4 separate regions of the Homo sapiens genome follow, and regions 2, 3 and 4 are each linked to region 1. Evidence: promoter capture Hi-C in human tissues and cell types (Jung and others, 2019). All regions are on one chromosome and are shown on one strand. The core of a region is centred on a gene start or on the middle of the fragment in contact, and the rest is flanking DNA. Distances in the headings are between cores, read along the strand shown. Region 1 holds the start of ATP8B3 (ATPase phospholipid transporting 8B3). Region 2 overlaps PEAK3 (PEAK family member 3). Region 3 holds the start of DAZAP1 (DAZ associated protein 1). Region 4 holds the start of RPS15 (ribosomal protein S15).

Region 1 (3,324 bases), core at 227-2,726:
CTCATCTGCAGCCTCCCCGCCAGGCTCTGAATGTCCAGCCATAGGCTGTGTGTCTTGCCTTGGACATCCTGAGACCTAGGGGACCCCAAGATGATCCTCAAACCTGCAACAGCCCATCTGCCAGTGTCCCCCGCCAGCCACCCTGGTCGCCTCCCGCCAGTACAGCCTAGAAGGACTCTACCGCCAGCCATGCCAGCCTCTGGCCATGCCAGCCTCCGGCCACTGCTCCCCACACCTCGCTTTTCCTGAAAGGACCACTCTCACCTCCTCCTGGTTTCACTGACGGCCTCCTGCCCCTCTCCCCATGTGGCACCAGCTTAGGGGCTCAGTCATCTGTTCACTGACTGAATGGGACCCCCGGGCTATATGTTATATCTCAAAACACAGCATGAGGGTCAGGCATGGCCACTCCCCTCCTCACCCCCCCAGGCTGGGCAGCAAACTCTGATGGGGGCGATGGAGGCAGACGGACATCGTCAGAAGATCCTGGAATCTTCTCCACTAGCAGGTTCAGGAATGTGGGTCTGGCTCTAGCCCTGCACCGGGGGCCCTGGTTTGGCCCCCTATGAGGATGGGCAAACCACCCCTAGACGCCAGCAACTGGCCCCCCACCTGCCAGCTCTCTAGCAGTGCCCTCCCCGCCAAGCCCCTGCCCCTGTGTTCCGGCCACCCGATGCACCCGTCCTCACCCTTCTGGTCTCCATTCATACTTCCTAGCCCGGCCAGGCTGGGCCTTGTGCCTCCTCTCAGGTGCCCCTCTGCCTGGGGAGTCTCCCATCCCAGCTCTGATCACCGTCTCACCTCCGCGGATGCCAGCAGGACCTGAGCCTTCCTGAGTCACGTCTGAGTCACCCGTGTCCCCAGGTCCTGGTGGGGCAGGGCTTGGCTCAGGGCCAGCTCTGGTGCTCCTGGGAGTCTGAGCGGGGCCAGTGCCCATTCACCGCATGAGGAAAAGGGAGGTTCAGGGCGAAGAGGGGTTTAGGCTGTGGGACGGGGGAGAGGTGGGGGAGACCCCCGTGGGGGCAGACTGGGGATTGGAGAGTTGGAGAGAATGCTCAAATGGCCAGAATCCACTCGAAGTGTATCTGGGGGCAGAAAGAGACACGGACACAGCGCTGGCTTCCTGCCCCCTCACTAACTGGGATGCCCCATTACTCGGAAGCCCCCCACCCCGTCTTCCCGCAGCCGCAGGGGCACAGGACCGCCCTGGACAGGGCTCCAGAGTCCAGGGCTGTCTGCACCCGCCCCGGGGCCCCGACCGCGCGAACCTCTAGGGGCGCGCTCTCCACCCCCGCCGCCACGACCCCAGCTCTCAGCCTGGGTGGAGCCCAGAGAGGGTGCGCGGGCTCCCGGGGACGCACAGCAGTGGGAGCACCCGCCGCTCACCGGCGCAGGAGAGGCAGGGGGGGGCAGGCCGCGGGCGTCCAGGGCGGCGGACGTGGTGGAACCGTTAGCCCGGTGCCAACGGTCCTGAAACGGGGGGCGGGATCTCGGGGCGGGGCCTCGGGGCCCGGCCAAGGCGAAGGTGGAGCCAGTTCGGACCCCGGAAGGGGGCCGGGGGCGGGGCCTGGAGGGGGTGGGTGGGGCCAAGGCGAAGAAGGGGCGGGGCCTCGAGGGTGGGGCCGAGCGGAGCACGGCCGAGCAGGATGGGGGCCAGGCCTCAGGGACGCGGTCACGGCCGAAGGGCGGGGCCTCGCAGAGCCTCGCAGAACAGGCCGGGATAGAAGACGCTCGGGAGCAGTGCCTGGGTCTGGGGAGGGGCCGGGACTTTGGGGAAGGGACTAGAAGGAAGGCGAGGACGAGCGGGGTCTCGCTGAGCAAAGTCAGAGTAGGGGCGGGGCCAGGACTCAGGGGCTTGGCCAGAGCGGGAAGCGGGGTTGAGCATGGCCTTGCGGAGCAGTGTTATGGTAGGGGCGGGGCTGGGATCCGGAGCCGTTACAAAGGAGGAAGGCGGGGCCGCGCAGAGCAGGGTCAGGGTAGGAGGGCGCTCAGGGTGGGTCCAGGACAGAAGGCAGGGCCTTGGGAGGGCCTTAGGGAGCAGTGCCAGTGCAGGGGCGGAGCCTGAAAGGGAAGAGGGTGTCAGGGCAGGGCCGGGCCGGGCTTGGTCAGGGAGCAGAAAGAACCTGCACCGCAGGGCGGGGTTGGAAGGGTTCTTGGAAAGGTGGGCCTGGGTCAGGTCGGAATGGGCCTTGCAGACCTGACGGGGCTGAGGCTGGTGCGGCCAGCGTGGCAGAGTGCAGGAGGAAGGACCACAGGTAACGGCGGTTATGTAAGTCATGTCTGATCCGTGTCCTGGGTTCGTTCATTCATCCCATACACGTTCAACGAGCGCCTCCTAGGCGCAGATGCAGGGCTGAGCACCAGGCTGGGGAGAGGCGGTTATAGCCATTGAGACCACCCTAAGGCCAAGAGGAAGCCCGCAGGGTTCTTTCCAGCAGGTGGCAGGGGCTCAGGGATCCTTACTGAAGAAGTGGCAGGGGTGAGTTCAGCGACGAGGCTAGGGCGGGTCCAGGCCAGCGATAGGGCCTGGAGCCAGGGTCAGAAAGTGTGTGCGGAGGGGCTGCTGAAGATGAAATGCCCCCAAGAGTGAGGCTACCTGGGGTGAGGGCCCAAAGGGAGAGGCAAACATGGGTGGAGGGGGATAGGGAAGCCACCTCCCCCATCAAAGCGGCAACCACCTGAGGGCTCTCGGTGATCACAAACCCTCTTTCTTTGGAAGCCCAAATTGGAAGCCTGCTTGGCCCTGGAGGCTGCCAGGGAACCTCTCTTTTTTTGGAGACAGAGTCTCACTGTGTCACCCGGGCTGGAGTGCAGTGGTGCGATCAGAGCTCACTGCAGCCTCCACCTCCTGGGCTCAAGCGATCCTCCTGCCTCAGCCTCCAGAGTAGCTGGGACCACAAGCAGGCAGGCAGGCCACTGTGTTTGACTTCTCTCCTTTCATTCCTTCAACACTTCCCCTGTGCTTGCTTGCTTGCTCAGTGGTTACGAAAAAAAGCCGGGGCTGGGAGTTTGAACACACTGTTCTAATAAACTTTAGAAGAGACCTGGTTGGGTGCAGCTGTGAGGACCAGATTCCCCCACCCCAGCCTTCGCAGGGGGCACTATCTGGGGGCAGGAGCTTGCCCAGGGCACTTGTGCAAAGGCCCTGAAGCCTCCAGTGGCAACAGGTGGCTTCACAAGCTGAAGGGAGTCCCTGGGGGCTGAAGCCAGGGCTGGCCAGCCTTGGGACCCCCCGTGGGCTATGTCCTGAGGCACCAGGTGCGTTCTGGGAAGGGGGAGGCAGACATCACATGGGAATGCACAGAAACAGAGCGCATACACGCC
Region 2 (3,324 bases), core at 593-3,092, 470 kb after region 1:
GTGGAGACAGGGAGGCCTGCAGCTCCAGGCCCCACGGGTGGGGCACGTCCGCCCCGGGCTTGGGCACCTGCAAGGCAGAGGGGGTGTCGGGGCCTGGATCACTGGGCCCCCCACAAGCACCGCCTGCCCCAGTGCTACCTGCCCCGAAGCCTCCCACGCACACCCCCAAACTGCCCCCACTACGGCTAGGGGCTGCCTGCATCCCTCCAGCAGCAGGAGGTCAGTGTTAATTTGGAAGTTAGTCACCAGTAAGGACTTTCAGGAAAGTTAAGCCAGGGAAGAAGATGTTCCTGGGCAATGAGTTCGAAAGCAGATTCCTGGGCCGGGCGCGGTGGCTCACGCCTTCCCAGCACTTTGGGAGGCAGGGGGATCGCTGAGGTCAGGAGTTCGAGACCAGCCTGGCCAACGCAGGGAACGCTCGTCTCTACTAAAAAATGCAAAACTAGCTGGGCGTGGTGGCGCGCCTGTCATCCCAGCTACTTCGGAGGCTGAGGTGAGAGAATCGCTTGAGCCCGGGAGGTGGAGGTTGCAGTGAGCCGAGAACGCGCCACTGCACTCCAGCCTGGGCAACAGAGTGAGACTCTGTCTCAAAAACAAAAAACAAAACAAAAAACACAAAAGCAGATCCCCGGCCAGAGAGGTGTGGGAGGGGTTTTGACAAGAGCTCCAAGGCCATACCCATGGCCCCATACTTTAGAAACATGGTTTCCTGGGTTAACTGCGTTGATTCACGTGTTAGTTGCAAAATAAACAAGTCTAATATGGTCTGGATCTGTGTCCCCACCAAATCTCATTCCCCAGTGTTGGAGGTGGGGTCTGGTGGGAGGCGACTTGGATCTTGGGGGTGGTTTATCATGAATGGCTCAGCACCATCTCCCTTGGCACTGTCGTTGGGATAACGAGTGAGTTCTCGTGAGATCTGGCTGTGTAAAGGTGAGTAGCACCTCCTCCCTCCCTTCCTCCTGCTCCCACCGTGTGAGATGCCTGCTCCCGCCTCGCCTTCCACTATGATTGGAAGCTTCCTGAGGCCTCCCCAGAAGCAGAAGCCACCAGAACCATGAGCCAATTAAGGCCCTTTTCTCTATAAATTACCCAGTCTCCAGTATTCCTTTTTCTTTTCTTTTCTTTTTTCTTCTCTTTTGTTTTTCTTTTTTGAGACAGAGTCTCACTCTGTCGCCCAGGCTGGAGTGCAATAGCCCAATTTTCGAATCTCAGCTCACTGCAACCTCCGCCTCCCAGGTTCAAGTGATTCTCCTGCCTTAGCCTCCAAGTAGCTGGGACTTCAGGTGCGCACCACCGCGCCCGGCTAATTTTTGTATTTTTAGTAGAGATGGGGGTTTCACTATGTTGGCCAGGCTGGTCTCGAACTCCTGACCTCATGATCTGCCCGCCTTGGCCTTCCAAAGTGCTGAGATTACAGGCGTCAGCCACTGTGCTGCCCAGCCTTTTTTTTTTTTTTTAGACGGAGTCTCGCTCTGTCGCCCAGGCTGGAGCGCAGTGGTGCGTTCTCGGCTCACCGCAAGCTCTGCCCCCTGGGTTCATGCCATTCTCCTGCTTCAGCCTCCCAAATAGCTGGGACTACAGGTGCCCACCACCACGCCCGGCTAATTTTTTGTCTTTTTAGTAGAAACAGGGTTTCACCGTGTTAGCCAGGATGGTCTGTATCTCCTGACCTCGTGATCTGCCCGCCTCGGCCTCCCAAAGTGCTGGGATTACAGGTGTGAGCCACTGTGCCCGGCCTTTTTCTTTTTTTTTTTTTTGAGACGGAGTCTCACTCTGTTGCCCAGGCTGGAGTGCAATGGCCCAATCTTGGCTTACTGCAACCTCTGCCTCCCGGGTTCAAGCAATTCTCCTGCCTCAGTCTCCCAAGTAGCTGGGTTTACAGGCGCCCGCCACCACACCTAATTTTTGTATTTTTAGTAGAGGCTGGGTTTCACCATGTTGGCCAGGCTGGTCTTGAACTCCTGACCTCAGCTGATCCGCCCGCCTTGGCCTCCCAAAGTGCTGGGATGACAGGCGTGAGCCACCGCGCCCGGCTCCAGTATTTCTTTACAGCAGTGTGAGAACTGACTCACAGAAAGGCCAAATGAAACAAGCCCTGGGTTATGTCTAAGATGGGGCACTGGGGACACCTCAGAGAGGGTGGGGCTGTGGGGCTCACCTTGGCGACCAGGATGTGCCAGGCGTCCTCGTGCGCGCGCACCACGCGGTAATACAGGGCGTCCCCGCTCTCTGCGCAGGGTGAGCTGTCTAGGAGGCGGAAGCTGTGGCCGGGGTGGCAGGGCCCGGGGTGGCCCCCCATGAGCCGGGCACGGAGCCGGGCATAGATGGTACGGAGGCCCTGCAGCTGCCGCGCAGCCAGTGCAGTGTGCACAGCCTCCGGGCTGTGCAGATCGCGGAGGGAGAGGCCCAGTGGGGCGTCAGCCGGGCCAAAGGTCAGCTCTGCAGGGAGACAGGCTGGTCCCACTGCAGCCTGGCTCTTGTCCACACTGTGGGACCCCAGAAAGGGTCTCCGAGGCGGCTGTACTTGGATGGAGCTGGGATGGAGGGTCCTGCGGGTGGGCAGTGACTGGGTCCGGGTTAGGATCTTCTTGGGCAGGGGTGGGGGCAGGGGCTCTGGGTTGGTGGAGAGGGACCCAGGGGTCCGGAGGCGGCAGGCCTTGGAGGGCAGCAGGTGGGCACGGATCTGACCTGCAGGGAGAGACAGTGGGGGAGGGTTGAGGACAGGCGGAGTGGGAACGGGACACGTGACTCCACCTCTCAGCCTCGGTTTCCCCATCTCTAACATGGAAGTAATGAGGCTGGGCGCCGGTGGCTCATGCTTGTAATCCCAGCACTTAGGAAGGTGGAAGCCGAGGCAGGAGGATCACTGGAACCTAGGGTTTGAGACCAGCCTGGGCAACATAGTGAGACCCTGTCTCTGCAAAAATTTTTTAAAAATTTGCCGGACGCGGCCATGCACAATGGCTCATGCCTGTAATTCCAGCACTTTGGGAGGCCGAGATGGGTGGATCACGAGGTCAGGAGATCGAGACCATCCTGGCTAACACGGTGAAACCCCGTCTTTACTAAAAATACAAAAAATTAGCCGGGCTTGGTGGTGGGCGCCTGTGGTCCCAGCTACTCGGGAGGCTGAGGCAGGAAAATTGTGTGAACTTGAGAAGTGGAGCTTGCAGTGAACCGAGATTGTGCCACTGCACTCCAGCCTGGGCGGCAGAGCTTACAGAAGGGGAAACTGAGGCTTATAGGAGGATGGATCAGTTTCAGAGAGTGATGCCACCCAGCACTCAGCGACTCCCACTTACCTCCGTGGCTTTGCACAAG
Region 3 (3,324 bases), core at 258-2,757, 400 kb before region 1:
CCACCATGCCGAGCTAATTTTTTGTACTTTTAGTAGAGACGGGGTTTCACCATGTTAGCCAGGATGGTCTCGATCTCCTGACCTCGTGATCCGCCCACCTTGGCCTCCCAAACTGCTGGGATTCCAGGAGTGAGCCACCATGCTCGGCCCTTTTTTTTCTAAGAGGGAGTCTTGCTCTGTTGCCCAGGTTGGTGTGCAGTGGCGCGATCTCGGCTCACTGCAACCTCTACTTCCTGCCTTCAAGCATTTCTCCGGCCTTAGCTTCCCGAGTAGCTGGGATTACAGGCGCCCACCACCACGCCCGGCTAATTTTCTTTTGTATTTTTAGTAGAGACGGGGTTTCACTATATATGTTGGCTAGGCTGGTCTCGATCTCCTGACCTAAATTGATCCTCGGCCTCCCAAAGTGTTGGGATTATAGGCGTGCGCCACCTCACCCGGCCTTGTTCCTTGTATTTATTTAATTCTGTGATGATGAATAAACCAAACGATCAGGCTGTCAATGTGCTGTGAGATTAAGGAGAAAAGCAGTAGGCAGCACGTACCCGGTTTTACAAAACCCTGCGGGTCACCTGTTTACTACCGTCAGCCTAGACCGGTTTTTCCACCTCCTTCTGCTGACATTGGAGGACGGGTATCATTCTTTTTGGGGGGTCGTCGTGTGCACTGCAGGGTGCTGAGCGGCATGTCTGGTCTGGACCCACTCGATGCCAGCAGCACCCCGCACTCAAGTTGTGACAACCAAAACCGTGTTTTCAGACATTGCCAAGTTATCCCCTAGGGGGCAAAGTCACCCAGAAGAAGAACCACTGATGTATGCAATTAACAGATGCAACTAAAACAGTATTTGGCTATTAATAGTAATAGCACTTGGGGGGGGGGTCAATAATATCTTTTCATAGTCATTGAATTTAGTTAATTGTTTTGATTTGATTCCAGTTCAGCCCCGAACTGGGTGACCTTGGCCAAGTGACTCAGCCTCTCGGACCCTCGGGATCCTCTTCTGTGAAATGCGGACAGGGGAAGGAGCCTCGCGCGGGACGCTCACGTGCCGTTCCCGCTCCGTCCGCCCGCCTGGGGTGCGGGCGGGTACACTCCCACTCCCCGCAGCGCCCCACGCGGCTCCACCGCTTCCGAGTGAAGAGTTAAAGAGGAAGCGGCAGCCGCGCCTGCGCCCACAGTGCCTAGCCCGGAGCGCCGGTCTCGCAAGCGCGCACGCGCACGCAAGCCCGCACGCGCGCGCACGCACGCACGTGGCTCGGCCCGCGCGCATCCTCCCCTTGCAGGGGCGGGGCCAGCGCAGGGACTCCATTTCCCAGCGTGCCCCGCGGCAACGCCAGGAGCCTCCGAGGAGAAAGGAAAACGCGCGACGGCCCCGACTGCGGCGGCGCGAAATCCGCCTCAGGGACGCACGCACAGACGGAGTACCCCTGGACCCGCCCCCGGAGACCCCGTGCGGGAGCGCGCCCGGGCGTGCGCAGGGGCGGCGGCGCGGCGGCGCGGGGACGCGCGGTGACCGTTGGCGCCGAGGGGAGGAGGCAGCCGCCGCCGCCGCCGCCGCCGCCGCCGCCGCCGCCGCCGCCGTTGCGCAGATCCGGGCCGCGGCTGTGGGGAGGGCGACGGAGCGGGTGACCTTCCGGAGGCGGGAGCGAGCGAGGAGGCCCGGGAGCGCCGAGCGTCGCCGCCGCCGCCGCCATGAACAACTCGGGCGCCGACGAGATCGGGTGAGGACGAGCGGCGCGGGCCTGCGTCTCCGCCCCGAGCCCGGCCCGCCGCTCCCCGCCGCCCGGCCTCAGACGCCGCCCCCCGGGGCCGCCCCGTCAAGGTCACGCCGGCCGGGGGCGGACTCGGGACCCGGACTCGCCGCGGCTTCGCGCCGGGGGCCCTGGACGGGTGCCCGGGGTCTGGGGGGGTCCTGGCGCCCCCGCCGCCGCTTCCCGGCTTCCCGTCCTGGGGGATCCTGAAGGAGAGCCTGAGGGGTCCGGGGGGCCCCGCCGCCGCCTCCAGACTTCCTGGTCGGGGGAACCCCGAACGGCAACCTGGGGGGGTGTCCTGGGGCGCCCGTGCCGCCGCTTCCCGACTGCGCGTCCTGAGGGACCCCGAATGGGAGCCAGAGGGGTTCAGGGGCCCCCGCCGCCGCTTCCTGGTTGTGGCGGCCCCGAACGGGAACTTGGGGGGGTCTGGAGCGTCCCCGTTGCCGCCTGTAGGGCTTCCTGGCCTGGGGGACCCCGAATGAGAACCTGAGGGAGTCTGCGGGGAGTCCAGGGCGCCGTCGCCGCCGCCTCCCGGCTTCCTGGCCAGGGGGACCCCAAACTGTGGCGTGGGGGGTGGTCCGGGGCGCCCCCAGCGCGCGCCCAAACTTGGCGGGCGGCGCACGTGGCGAGCCGAGGCGAGGGTTCCGGTTCTGCCACCGCCCAACCTATCCCACTCGGGGCTCCGGGCTCCCCGCTCCCATCCCACCCCCCCAAAGTGGTAAGGTCGGGAGGGGTTCGCAAACCCAGGGCCCAGGGGGCTCGGGTCAGCCGGGGCCTGCTGTGTTTACGTTGCCTCGGCGCCTCCCCGCCGGGGGTGGGCTTGAGCTGCGGAAGGGAGAGTCAGCGCTTCCGAGGCGGCGACGGGCCCGCGGATCTTTGCTGCGCCGAGGCGTCCCCTCCTATAGGAGCCTGACCTGCTCCGGACCCCGCGGGGCCGGGAAACCTCATTTCGCTGTGCCCCAGGGCTCGGCGCCATTCTTTGGTAGGAGCGGCTCCTGCCGCAGCGACGTCGTTTTAGAGTTGCATTCTTCCGGCAAAACAGTCTGGGTTGGGTTTCCTAGTGGTCTGGTGTAAATTTCTCGGTGCCCTTAGCTTTGAGCAGCGCCCTGTGTTCTCAGCGCTGGGCTTGGCTAGTGCGGGAGCGGTTGCTGCTAGAGGGTTGCCTTGGCAGGCGCCTCTCGCACCAGCTACAGGTCACACTTGTGGATGGGAAATGCCTTTTGTGGGCTCTCCCCCTCCCCAGACAAAACAAAAGAGCACCTTCCGTTGGAGAACCAGGATGAAAGCACTTAGCCCCTGCCTAGCCCGTGCTGTGAGTCCTCTCCAGGCACTTTGACTTGGCAGGGTCCGTGTGCCTGTGTGAGGGACATTGCAGGGATGGGCCTGAGCAGGGAGTCCACCGGCCATGGGGGATGGAGCCATCGACTTTGGGGTGAGGCAGGGAAAGGGCTCCCAGATGGGGTACCTGGATTAGGTCCATTCAAGCCGCGGGTGAACGTGGGCCCGCTCCACCCAAGCCGTGGCTGTGAGGAGGCTGGAGAGAGGTGAGGGCTCCTGTCCCCTCCCTGCA
Region 4 (3,324 bases), core at 825-3,324, 370 kb before region 1:
GCCTGGGCAACAAGAGCGAAACTCCGTCTCAAAAAACAAAACAAGAAAAAAAAAGGACCATGAAGTCCCAAACTGGAAGCCTACAGCGTGCCAGGCGTGAGACTGTTCAGGCGACAGCCAGAACCACCCCCCCCCGCCCCAGTTCATATTTTGGGGACAGGGAAGGTTTGACTTAGTTTGGAGAGAACCAAGAGAAGGGGTACCCCCAACATCCCTGTGCAGTGCAGTTTCCTCACTGAGACAGTACCCCTCAACGCCTCAGCCCAGGAAGCCAGCTCCATTCCCTGCCGTCAGAGCCTTCTCCCATGTCCTCAGGAGCTGCTGCCCCAGCTCCCAGGAGGGCCAGGCGGGGGCGGCTGTCTATCCACACCACAGGTCATCATGGTGTTGAGTGTCAGCCCCTCCCGTTACATTAGCTCCCCCAGCCAAAGAGCAGCACTCACAAAATCAGCTTTCCAGCCAGGACACTCTGCTGCAGGAAAATGGGTAACATGGACGGGCCCGACACATAGGTCCTGTGCTCCTCGGGACGGAGACTCAGCCCTCCCTGAGTACAGTGTAATTGGCTTCCCTTGGGACTGTGGGGACGGCTGGGGAGAGCTCAGCTCCCTGGACAGTGCCACAGCTAAGCTCGGGTTCCCAGAGGTTTTGTGCTTTTTTTTTTTCTTTTTCTTTTTTTTTTTTTTTTTTTTTTTTGAGAAGGAGTCTCTGTCGCCCAGGCTGGAGTGCAGTGGTGCGATCTCAGCTCACTGCAACCTCCGCCTCCCGGGTTCAAGCGGTTCTCCTGCCTCAGCCTCCCAAGGAGCTGGGATTACAGGCACCCACCACCACGCCTGGCTAATTTTTTGTATTTTTAGTAGAGTTAGGGTTGGTCAGCTTGGTCTTGAACTCTTGACCTCAGGTGATCCGCCCGCCTCGGCCTCCCAAAGTGCTGGAATTACAAGCATAAGCCACCACGCCCAGCCAGGTGCCACATCCATAGTTAATAGTCACCTTCAACTTTATACTTAATTCCAGTAAGATACAGAAACATCACTCCTAGGCCAGGCGCGGTGGCTCACGCCTGTAATCCCAGCACTTTGGGAGGCCAAAGCGGGTGGATCACCTGAGGTCAGGAGTTCGAGACCAACATGGCCTGGCCAACATGGAGAAACCGTGTCTTTACTAAAAATACAAAATTAGCCGGGCACGGTAACAGGTGCCTGTAATCCCAGCTACTTGGGAGGCTGAGGCAGGAGAATCGCTTGAACCCAGGAGGCAGAGGTTGCAGTGAGCCGAGATCACACCACTGCACTCCAGCCAGGGCAACAAGAGTGAAACTCTGTCTCAAAAAAAAAAAAAAGTCACTCCTACATAGTTCTAGTTACTCCTTCTCTTTGAGCTATCATTATTCACATTACATTTACATATCTTAACAAACCCAGTGATATTCCTAACTTTATTTTTGAGGCAGGGTCTTGCTCTGTCGCCCAGGCTGGAGTGCCGTTGGCGCGATCACGGCTCACTGCAGCCTTGACCTCCTGGGCTGAAGGCTCAGCCTCCCGAGTAGCTGGGAATTTTTTGTACTTTTTATTCTTTTATGTCCGTGTGTACACAAATTTTTGTATTTTTTTGTAGAGAGGCAGTCTCACTGTGTTGTCCTTACTAACTTTATATACAAAATTTTATCTGTTAAAGCCGGAATGGTTCTTTTCAGCGAGGCCCTGTCCCTGCTCCAGTATCTGTAATGAATTCTCGTGTTCCTCCCACAGTGGGACCTGAACCGCCAAACCGCACCTACGAGCAAACGGTAGGCGCTCCATAAATACTTGTTGATGTGGGTGCCATCGTGTAGATGACGGAGCACGAACCCGAGGCTCAGACAGGGGCGGCGACTTGTCCAAAGTCCCACTCCGTGGAGGAAGCGGCTCTGCAGACCTCAGGCGGCGGCTGCTCTAATCCCTGCAGCCTGTGTTTTGCCCTCCAGACGGCAGAGGGCGCGTGTTCGCCGCCGGGAAAGCGGAAGCGCGTGTGCGCGCACGGCCGAGGGGGCGGGACATGCCGGCAGTCTCGCGATAACTGCGCAGGCGCGGACCAAAGCGATCTCTTCTGAGGATCCGGCAAGATGGTGAGTGTTGCGATTTGGCGCGTCTCTGCCGGGCCTATCCGGCTCCATCCAACCTCTGACCGTCTCGCGGGGGCCGCAGTTCGTCCCCGCGGCTACGGCGGCTTGCTCCCGACCCTGCAGGCGGCTGGATGTTGGGGCGAGGGGCGGACTTGGTGGGTGTCGGGACGACGCGGGGCTGGGAAGGCCTGTCCGGGCCTTCATGTCCGGGTCCTCGTAACCCGGAGCCGCGAGTGATCCCCGGGGACGGGTCGAAGCGGTGTGTCCCTGTCGGGCTTCTGTCCCCGGCGGCGCCGCGCGTCTTCCGCGGTGTCCTCGGGCCCGGTGGCCCCGGGAGATGGGTGTCGGGATCCCGCTGACGCCCGATCCGCGCCCGCACAGGCAGAAGTAGAGCAGAAGAAGAAGCGGACCTTCCGCAAGTTCACCTACCGCGGCGTGGACCTCGACCAGCTGCTGGACATGTCCTAGTAAGGGCGGCCGCGGGGGTCGCGGGCAGGGGCTGGGCCAGCGGTGGGGCTTGTCCGGGTGAGGGCGGCGGGGCGGGGGTCCAAGCGCCTCTGCGGCGGTGGGCGGGCACGGTCTCCGCGCGGGTTTGGAACTGAGTGTGGTCTTGCGCCCAGAAAACTGTCCAGAGACGTTGAGGTTTTTGCTTATTTGCAACCTGCCCCCCGTTGTTCACTTTTCCGCGGCTTAGTTGGAAGGTGTAGCCCCTGTCTGTAGCCCACGTGACTTAGAATAAGGGGCTGCGTTAGACTCCTTAGATTTTAAGGGCGGTGGAGGTCGCTGGGTCCTTTCCAGGCAGGGTGGTGGTGGGCATCTGGCTTGCGCTTTTATTTTTTAATTTTTGATTATTTTGAGGCGGAGTCTCATCCTGTCGCCCAGGCTGGAGTGCAATGGCTCCGTCCCAGCTCACTGCAGCCTCCCACTCCCGGGTTCAAGCGATTCTCTTGCCTCAGCCTCTCGAGTAGCTGGGATTAGAGGGCCCCCCCACCACGTCCGGCTAATTTTTGTATTTTTAGTAGAGACGAGTTTCAGTGTTGCCCAGGCTGGTCTCAAACTCCTGACCTCAGGTGATCCACCTGCCTCGGCCTCCCAAAGTGCTGGGATTACAGGCGTGAACACCGCGCCCGACCTTGATTTTTGATTATTTGTGGAAACAGCGTTTCTCTGTGTCGTCCAGGTTGGTCTTGAACTCCTGGGCTCAAGCGACCCTCCCGCCT

The links. The method cuts DNA at HindIII sites, captures the fragments that hold promoters and counts their contacts. A contact is called where the count stands out against the background at its distance.
Region 2: a fragment that was not itself captured here is called in contact with the fragment with the promoter of ATP8B3 in region 1 in 1 of the 25 tissues and cell types used here (spleen).
Region 3: the fragment with the promoter of DAZAP1 here is called in contact with the fragment with the promoter of ATP8B3 in region 1 in 1 of the 25 tissues and cell types used here (lymphoblastoid cells).
Region 4: the fragment with the promoter of RPS15 here is called in contact with the fragment with the promoter of ATP8B3 in region 1 in 3 of the 25 tissues and cell types used here (aorta, dorsolateral prefrontal cortex and lymphoblastoid cells).

Annotation. Positions count from the first base shown.
Region 1 is chr19:1,810,800-1,814,123 of GRCh38, forward strand. ATP8B3 (ATPase phospholipid transporting 8B3) reads right to left here and starts at 1,477. Exons shown (of 29, transcript NM_138813.4): 1 at 1,387-1,477; 2 at 690-1,085. The coding sequence starts at 937. RefSeq lists enhancers at 985-1,730, 2,111-2,270 and a silencer at 1,191-1,560. The HindIII fragment of the contact is 30,703 bases long and covers 1-3,324 here.
Region 2 is chr19:2,276,423-2,279,746 of GRCh38, forward strand. PEAK3 (PEAK family member 3) reads right to left here. Exons shown (of 4, transcript NM_198532.3): 3 at 2,162-2,691; 4 at 1-67. Among named protein-coding and RNA genes, the nearest start is that of PEAK3, 4.1 kb to the right of the region's middle. The HindIII fragment of the contact is 7,382 bases long and covers 1-3,324 here.
Region 3 is chr19:1,406,079-1,409,402 of GRCh38, forward strand. DAZAP1 (DAZ associated protein 1) reads left to right here and starts at 1,508. Exons shown (of 12, transcript NM_018959.4): 1 at 1,508-1,724. The coding sequence starts at 1,696. RefSeq lists silencers at 1,352-1,581, 1,722-1,931, 2,312-2,411. The HindIII fragment of the contact is 8,178 bases long and covers 1-3,324 here.
Region 4 is chr19:1,436,322-1,439,645 of GRCh38, forward strand. RPS15 (ribosomal protein S15) reads left to right here and starts at 2,075. Exons shown (of 4, transcript NM_001018.5): 1 at 2,075-2,107; 2 at 2,486-2,571. The coding sequence starts at 2,105. RefSeq lists enhancers at 1,820-2,690, 2,099-2,318. The HindIII fragment of the contact is 20,902 bases long and covers 1-3,324 here.